Linked DNA regions of Homo sapiens: region 1 is linked to region 2. Evidence: promoter capture Hi-C in human tissues and cell types (Jung and others, 2019). All regions are on one chromosome and are shown on one strand. Each heading gives the region's core, a stretch centred on a gene start or on the middle of the fragment in contact. The rest is flanking DNA. Distances are from core to core; before and after follow the strand shown. Region 1 has its middle 160 kb from the start of DDHD1-DT. Region 2 holds the start of PSMC6 (proteasome 26S subunit, ATPase 6).

The links. The method cuts DNA at HindIII sites, captures the fragments that hold promoters and counts their contacts. A contact is called where the count stands out against the background at its distance.
Region 1: a contact is called between a fragment that was not itself captured here and the fragment with the promoter of PSMC6 in region 2, in 1 of the 25 tissues and cell types used here (mesenchymal stem cells).

The regions. Positions count from the first base shown.
Region 1 is chr14:53,315,438-53,320,295 of GRCh38, reverse strand. No RefSeq gene overlaps it. Among named protein-coding and RNA genes, the nearest start is that of DDHD1-DT, 160 kb to the right of the region's middle. The HindIII fragment of the contact is 3,682 bases long and covers 1-3,092 here.
Region 2 is chr14:52,705,945-52,710,428 of GRCh38, reverse strand. It overlaps PSMC6 (proteasome 26S subunit, ATPase 6), which reads right to left and starts at 3,229. Exons shown (of 14, transcript NM_002806.5): 1 at 3,125-3,229; 2 at 2,041-2,120; 3 at 1,907-1,946; 4 at 1,613-1,665. The coding sequence starts at 3,209. RefSeq lists enhancers at 2,869-2,918, 2,939-3,188, 3,489-3,548, 3,569-3,678. The HindIII fragment of the contact is 7,628 bases long and covers 1-4,484 here.

The DNA of each region.
Region 1 (4,858 bases), core at 2-2,501, 610 kb before region 2:
GCACGTGAGATGGGTCTCCTGAATACAGCACACTGATGGGTCTTGACTCTTTATCCAATTTGCCAGTCTGTGTCTTTTAATTGGAGCATTTAGCCCATTTACATTTAAAGTTAATATTGTTATTATGTGTGAATTTGATCCTGTCATTATGATGTTAGCTGGTTATTTTGCTCATTAGTTGATGCAGTCTCTTCCTAGCCTCGATGGTCTTTACAATTTGGCATGTTTTTGCAGTGGCTGGTACCGGTTATTCCTTTCCATGTTTAGTGCTTCCTTCATGAGCTCTTTTAGGGTAGGCCTGGTGGTGACAAAATCTCTCAGCATTTGCTTGTCTGTAAAGGATTTTATTTCTCCTTCACTTATGAAGCTTAGTTTGGCTGGATATGAAATTCTGGGTTGAAAATTCTTTTCTTTAAGAATGTTGAATATTGGTCCCCACTCTCTTCTGGCTTGTAGAGTTTCTGCTGAGAGATCAGCTGTTAGTCTGATGGGCTTCCCTTTGTGGGTAACCCGACCTTTCTCTCTGGCTGCCCTTAACATTTTTTCCTTCATTTCAACTTTGGTGAATCTGACAATTATGTGTCTTGGAGTTGCTCTTCTCGAGGAGCTTCTTTGTGGCATTCTCTGTATTTCCTGAATTTGAATGTTGGCCTGCCTTGCTAGATTGGGGAAGTTCTCCTGGATAATATCCTTCAGAGTGTTTTCCAACCTGGTTCCATTCTCCCAGTCACTTTCAGGTACACTAATCAAATGTAGATTTGGTCTTTTCACATAGTCCCATATTTCTTGGAGGCTTTGCTCGTTTCTTTTTATTCTTTTTTCTCTAAACTTCTCTTCTCACTTCACTTCATTCATTTCGTCTTCCATCACTGATAACCTTTCTTCCAGTTGATCGAATTGGCTACTGAGGCTTCTGCATTTGTCAAATAGCTCTCGTGCCTTGGTTTTCAGCTCCATCAGGTCATTTAAGGACTTCTCTGCATTGGTTATTCTAGTTATCCATTTGTCTAATTTTTTTTCAAAGCTTTTAACTTCTTTGCCATTGGTTCGAATTTCCTCCTGTAGCTCGGAGTAGTTTGATCATCTGAAGCCTTCTTTTCTCAACTCGTCAAAGTCATTCTCCGTCCAGCTTTGTTCCGTTGCTGGTGAAGAGTTGCATTCCTTTGGAGGAGGAGAGGCGCTCTGATTTTTAGAGTTTCCAGTTTTTCTGCTCTGTTTTTTTCCCATCTTTGTGGTTTTATCTACCTTTGTTCTTCGATGATGGTGACGTACAGATGGGTTTTTGGGGTGGATGTCCTTTCTGTTTGTTAGTTTTCCTTCTAACAGACAGGACCCTCAGCTGCAGGTCTGTTGGAGTTTGCCGGAGGTCCACTCCAGACCCTGTTTGCCTGGATATCAGCAGTTGAGGCTGCAGAACAGCGAATATTGGTGAACAGCAAATGCTGCTGCCTGATCGTTCCTCTGGAAGTTTTGTCTCAGAGGAGTACCCGGCCGTGTGAGGTGTCAGTCTGCCCCTACTGGGGGATGCCTCCCAGTTAGGCTACCCAGGGGTCAGGGACCCACTTGAGGAGGCACTCTGTCCATTCTCAGATCTCCAGCTGCATGCTGGGAGAACCACTGCTGTCTTCCAAGCTGTCAGGCAGGGACATTTAAGTCTGCAGAGGTTTCTGCTGCCTTTTGTTTGGCTATGCCCTGCCCCCAGAGGTGGAGTCTACAGAGGCAGGCAGGCCTCCTTGAGATGCGGTGGGCTCCACCCAGTTTGAGCTTCCCGGCAGGTTTGTTTACCTACTCACGCCTCAGCAATGGCAGATGCCCCTCCCCCAGCCTGGCTGCTGCCTTTCAATTTGATCTCAGACTGCTGTGCTAGCAATGAGCAAGGGTCCGTGGGCGTAGGACCCTCCGAGCCAGGCACGGGATATAATCTCCTGGTGTGCCATTTGCTATGACCATCAGAAAAGCGCAGTATTAGGGTGGGAGTGACCCGATTTTCCAGGTGCCATCTGTCACCCCTTTCCTTGGCTAGGAAAGGGAATTCCCTGACCCCTTGCGCTTCCTGGGTGAGGTGATGCCTTGCCCTACTTCGGCTCACGCTCGGTGCGCTGCACCCACTGTCCTGCACCCACTGTCTGACAATCCCCAATAAGATGAACCCAGTACCTGAGTTGGAAATGCAGAAATCATTCGTCTTCTGCATCACTCATGCTGGGAGCTGTAGACTGGAGCTGTTCCTATTTGGCCATCTTGGAACCACCCTCCAGTAGTTTTCTTGAAGAGAAAAAATAATGTAGCTGTTACATGCATGGAGGTTAGAGTCAGATATCCTGGGTTCCAATCCCCGTTTGGTCCTAACTGTGCCTTGGACATTTTCTAAAGGATCAGTGTATCTAGCCATTCCCAGGCTTTCTGAGATTTGGTTTCACCAGTAAAATGCAGAAAATGTTTACATGTTTCAGTTAATATGCCTTTGGTAATAGAACGCAAGACCCAAATGAATAAGGGAATTTAATGTCTCATAAAACTGAAAAGCCCAATAGTAGGGAAATCTTCAGTGGCTCAGCAATCTCACTAAATACCCAGCCTCTTTCCATTGTCTGCTCTGCTCTTGGGAACATCCACACACCCCAAGGCTGGCTGTACTGTGATGGAAAAGGTGGCTGCCAGAAGCTTCTGGACTTTCATATTTCCCCATTCATATTCAATAAACAGGAGTGTCTTCCCTAACCATCTAACAAAAATCCTGGACCTCCCTTTAATTGGGTCATCTTTGTTCACCTGTTGGCAAGAGAAATGGGATCTGGGAATTAGAACAAACTGCAATAGGAGAGGGGCAGAATGGATACTAGGGAGGCAACCACAATCCTCAAATCCTTCATATCATCTCCTAGAGTCAATCTGAGGACTGAATGTACATAAAGTGCTAATAAACACCTGGCAGATGTGTCAAATACTTGTGTGTGTGACAGTGTGTGTGTCAAGAGATATAGAGATAAAGAGCTTGAGACAGAGGTACAATTTCCAATTTAAGACCTATACAAGAGGGGGATTTTCAAGAAGATAGAGGATAGGAGAAAGGGCTAACATGTAGCTCCCATTTGGATGGACAGAACGGCATGAAGAGACTCACACCATGGACTTTTGCTCCAAGAACCACCACAGGAACGTACCAGGAAAACCGAAAGAGTTCACACATCCTTTGAAAGAAGCAGCACACCACTGAAAATTCCACAAGACAGATGAAAAACTGTGAGTTTCCAAAGTGTGAGAAGGGAAAAATCTGCCTCTGAACACACACCCCCACTGGGGAACCTGAAAATCCAGATTACGGGAGAAGGATTTAACCTTACCTGGAGCTGAAATGGATTTAGTGTGAAATATAAAAGTAGAAGCAGCAGCGGGAAGAGTCTTATAGGCACTCCAGTCTCCAGCTCGAGCCCAGGGAAGCCATCCCTGGCTCTATCTCACAGGGGCCGTCAGGGAAGGCAGCCAGTGGAATTTGGGAGGGGTCACAGGGTGAAACAAGCTTCCAACTGAACTTTGTAATAATTTCAACTGGGCATGAACTCTCTTGAGCAGAATCCAAGGAGCAAATGGGAACTGCTGCACAGAGGAACAATGGAGCTGTGGCCAACAATGTGGGCTGACGAGGAGGAGCAAGGCCTGAAAGCTGTGCTTGCTTTGTCAGCGAAGAAGTTTGTGCCTGGGGCAAGGTCTGAGCCCAGAATGCAGGCTGCCCAGAGATAAACTGTTACTTGGGCACTGCAGGAGCAAGACTGGCCTCACTGACTGCATGGGAGTTGGAGGAGGCCTGTTGCTACCAGCTTTCCCCCATATCCCTGGCAAAAGAGACAGCCATAATCCCCTCTGGAACATAACCCCTGAGAACCAGTCCCCAACCCCCACAGTGGCCATGGTAAGCCCTAACCAAGAAGAGTCTGAGCTCAGACTCACCTAACCCTTCCCTCACCTGATGGTATTTCTCTATCCACCCTGGTAGCTGATCACAAAAAACATAAACTCTTGGGAACTTTATGGCCCTGCCCATAACCCAAATACTAATCCTGGCCAACTTAGGGTGAGCTTATGTCTCTCTTCTACTATTACAGCTGGTGCTCTCTTGAAAGCACCACCTCCTGGCTGAAGGCCAACCAACTCAGGACATTACAGCCACCTCCACTAGAGCAAGTCTTGGTATCTATGTCTGGGAGACCAGAAGACGGATCACATCATAGGACTCTGCAGACATTGCCCAGCAGCAGCCTGCAGCCTAGTAGCCCCACTGGGTGACTAGACCCAGAAGAGCAACAGCAATTACTGCAGTCTGGCTCTCAGGAAGCCCCATCCCTAGGGGAAGTAGGACACCACCACATCAAGGGATCACCCCTTGGAACAAAAAAATCTGAACAACAGCCCTTGAGTCACAGATCTTCCCTCTGACATAGTCTACCCAAATGAAAAGGAATCAGAAAAGTAATTCTGGTAATATGACAAAACAAGGTTCTACAACACCCCCCAAAGACCACATTACCTCCCCAGCAATGGATCCAAACCAAGAAGACATCTCTGAATTGCCAGATAAAGAATTCTGATGGTTGATTATCAAGCTGTTCAAGGAGATACCAGAGAAAGGTGAAAACCTGCTTAAAGAAATTTAAAAAATAAATAAATAAAGGATATGGATGAAAAATTCTCCAGAGAAATAGATATCATAGAGAGAAAACAATCACAAATTCTGGAAATGAAAGACATACTCAGAAAAATACAAAAGTGCACTGAAAAGTGTCAATAATAGACTAGAACAAGTAGAGAAAGAACTTCAGAACTCATAGACAAGGCTTTTGAATTCATCCAATCAGACAAA
Region 2 (4,484 bases), core at 1,980-4,479:
AGTACGGAGTCTCACTCTGTCGCCCAGGCTGGAGTGCAGTGGCGCCATCTTGGCTCACAGCAACCTCTGCCTCCCTGGTTTAGGCAATTCTCCTGCCTCAGCCTCAAGTAGCTGGGATTACAGGTGTGTGCCACCATGCCCGGCTAATTTTTTTTTGTATTTTTTAGTAAAGACGGGGTTTCACCATGTTGGTCAGGCTGGTCTTGATCTCCTGACCTCGTGATCTGCCCACCTCAGCCTCCCAAAGTGCTGGGATTACAGGCATGAGCCACCCCGCCCGACCCAAGTTACTTTTTAATAGTTTAAAAAACTGCGTGCCAATACAATTTCGGAATCATATAAATTACTGACCACTTGTCACAGGATTTTACAAAGAGCTTCAAATTTAGGAAGATAGGCAAAACACTAGGATTAATATAACAATTAAGGAAAAAACGGCTAAGAAGTGAGGTTACTTGAAAAAATAAGAGGAGAAATCAATATGAAGCTATTTCAATGTTTACATCTATAGGAAATACAGGCTGAGTATTCTTAATCTGAAAATCCAAAATGCTCCACAATGTGAAATTTTTTGAATGCTGACATGATGCTCAAAGAAAATGCTCATCGGAGCATTTCAAACTTTTGATTTTTTTTAATTAGGGATGCTCAACCAGTACAACACAAATATTCTAAAACCTGAAAAAAAAAAAGCCAAAATCTAAAACACATTTCTGGCTCAAGCATTTTGGATAAGGGATACTCAACTTATATATACTTCGGCTTTTCTAATGTTTTTTAGTCTTCAAATACAGTCTTGTCCTCATGCAACCTGAAATATCTTAGAAATGCCAACTTTCGGCATCCACAGAGCCCTGAAAGGGACATGAAAATCCCTTGTCAGTTTAGGTATCTAATATTTTGACTTAGAAAATGTCAACCGCTTATATACTAGGCAAAATCCTAATAGGAGATTTATAGTTCCTGGATTAAATTCTCCCTTACAGCCATGTTCTGTGAATGTTTTAAAACCTGAACCTGAAATGACAATTAAACAGAGAAAACTCTTCCAATGAATTTAAAAGAATTATCTAAGGACACTTCCTAAAGAATAATACATAAATTGATTTCAGACACTACTGAATGACTTGAGGTCATTTGTTGGCATCTTTGATAACTGTAAAATAAAATTTAGAATTATTTCAACTTGCCCTACCCTAATCTAAATGACCTCATACAAAATTAACTTAGGCCATGGTACAGTCCATAAGTAACAGTTCTGAATGTCTAAATATAAACACAGGTAACTGATGATATCTAACACTTTTAAGTCCTCTTTAAAAATGACATTAAAATAAAATGTCTGTTTTCCAGTTCTAAAATACTTTTATTTCTAAGTGGCTATTAACAGATCTGACTGAGACAATGTAATACAGTAGAAAGTACGGAATGCCAGGAGTCAAAGCCCATGGTTTGAATTCAGGCTTTGTTAATAACTAGCTATGTCTGAACAAATCATCCTTGTGAGTTATGGGCATAAATGCTCCACCTGCTTGCCTCAAGAATTAGAGACAATAACTTACATGAAACTGCTTTGTCAATCATCAGGCACTATACAAATATAAAGTATTACCTGTCGACGACAACCCACAACATATCTTGGTCCATTGGTAGCTTTAACAATGACTAGAAGAAAAAACATAAAAGAACTAATTGAAAAATAGAAAGTAAAAAAATACATACCCACGTTGACAGAGGGTTTAGTTGTATTTCTGTCCTCCAAGGAGACATTAGTTGAAGGAAAACTTAAGTCTATTCAAAAATACTCTCTCTCTCTGCATTATTGTCATTAAAATAATAAGCATTTCAAAAGTGAGAGAGAGGTGGACTGTTTCTTTACTAATTAATAAGCTAATTCATCACTCACATTTTTCTTCAGTTAACTGTTTAAGCACTTCACCCACGATCTAAGGAAGAAAATAAAAAGCATTACTTTTTGGCAACAGCTAAATAAAAAAGCAAATTACCATCACCCCCTATTCCCCAAACTCCATCACCTACCTGCCCAACACTCTGTAGGGCCTTCAGATCATTTTCAGACTTTTCATACTGCTTGGTAAGTTCTTTTAATTGTTCCCTTACTGAAATAATACAATTTGAACATTTTTAATTGAACAGTAATCTTAGTGTGTTTAAGTCGCTACGTCTCACTTTACTGTTTACGTAAGTCTACTTCACTTTACCTAAGTTTCACATCCACTGTTTCAAACCATAAAAGAAATAATGCTGTTTGTAATGAGTAGGTGGCATGTATAACAACAAAATGTTACAGAGAAAGCACCATACTTTTACTTTGTTGATCGGCAATACTTGTTTAAGCACATCTTAAGTTATAGTCTTAGAAGATATTGACACCCTGACACTTAGGATTTGCGACTACAAATCCGAATGATAATCACTTAGACCCTTCCTCACCTCTTCACCTACCCACGTGGATTGTTCTCTGACATTCTACCCTAAATAAAGTCAACAAATGCAGTTCTCCACAGAATCATGTAATTATGGTCCTCCATTTAATTAAACTACTCATGCTTTTCAATGAAAATGCACTGGAAAAAAAAGTTAAGCACTCAGGAGGTAAGGGAAATTTGTATGCCTGATACAGTACAACACGAAACACAAGACGATATGGGTTATTATGACAACTGGAACACTTCTCTCTTAAGCTCCGCGGCCGTCTTTCGACTCCAAGAACAAGCCGACTCCCTGAGTCTCATCTCTTGTTTGAGCTTACTTGACTCAAGCGCCTTCCCCTCTCCAAGTCCCGGGACTCCACCAAGACTGCCCTTCTTGCACCCTAACCTGGGAAACATCCTCGGCCCACTTCCCCACTCCTCCTCTACTTCTTTTTCATTTTCACCTCAAGGCCGCCGATGTTCTGTCACCCGGGCTGGACTGGGCCATTTCTACACCCGAAGGAGTGCTGCTCCACAAGCTCAGGGCCGGATGACAAAGCGCCTTGTCCCTGGCCCTAGGCCTGGTCATCTCTAAGGCTCGGTTGCCGGGCTCGGCGAAAGGCTTCTGCTTTGTCAGAGGCAGAAGCGAGTCGAGGCACTTGATTAAATGGAAAGAAAGGTGCACTCACACTCCTTAAGACGGCCGTCGATCTCCTTGTGTTCAAGCAACTTCTTGCGGTAGTCCTGAAGCGCCTTATCTCTAGGGTCCGCCATGATGAGAAGCCGTCTCTCATAGGGGATGCCGGGAATGGCCATGGCCGTCCGGGCGGGGGAAGGGGCGGGGCGAGGGGCGAAACCCTGCCTGGAGGGGTGGGTTCGCCCATGAGCCCTCCCCTTCCGGTTGGCCCCGTCTTTCTACTCCACTTCCACCTCTATGTCTCGGTTCACCTAGAGCGCCGGCATACACTGAAAGAGGCCTCCACCTATACCGTTTCTTGCAAGCCGAGATAGGTAAAGCAGGACTCAGTTATCCCGGTCTTCCCCTGAGAGGCCTCAGTATTAAGTCACTGCTGTCCCGGAAGTATAAAAGGCTCTGTAATAAACTGAGATGGAAGTGAAGTAGGAAATGTGTAATACCTCAAAGGAGTTCCGATGGCCTGTCGACACAACACAGATGGCCTTTGTTATAACACAGTACTGTCCAAGACCTCCACGTGCTGGAGAAGTAGACAGTTTTATTCATCCATTCAGTCAGTGAATGAGGTATTAAAGGTAGATCTGCTTATCATTTGATAGGAAATAATAATAAAAAAAACTTCAGAGTTTAACAAATACTGTGAAGGAATTAAAACACGGTGAGAAGTATGGTGGGAAGAATTAATCTAGAACAGATATCTGAGATGAGAAGGAGCCAGCCTTGCAACAACTGAAGAAAACCTAAACAAACAGTGCAAGTCCTGGAGTGGAGTGGGGTGGGGGTTGTGGGTAGAAAGCTTGACTCACTTCCAGGAACAGAAAGGAGGCCAATGAGACCAGTAGGGGGTGGGTTGTAGAGATGTGGGGTACAAGATAAAGATGCTGAAGTAGGCTGAGGCAGGAACTTTGAAGTCTGATAGAACCTTCAGATTTATGTATTTATTTATTTACTTTTGAGATGGAGTCTTGCTCCTGCCGCACAGGCTGGAGCGGTGACGCGATCTCAGCTCACTGCAACCTCCACCTCCCGGGTTCAAGCAATTCTCCTTCCTCAGCCTCCGGAGTAGCTGGCATTACAGGTGTGCGCCACCACAACCGGCTAATTTTTGTATTTTTAGTAGAGACGGGGTTTCGCCATGTTGGCCATGCTGGTCTCGAACTGCTGACTTCAGGTGATCCACCCTCCTCAGCCTCCCAAAGTGCTAGGATTACAGGTGTGAGGCACTGCGCCCGGCCAGATTTTTTTTTTTTTTTTTTTTTTTTTGAGTCTGTGTCTCACTCTGTCACCCAGGCTGCAGTGTAGTGGTGCGATCTTGGCTCACTGCAACCTCTGCCTCCCGGGTTCAAGCGATT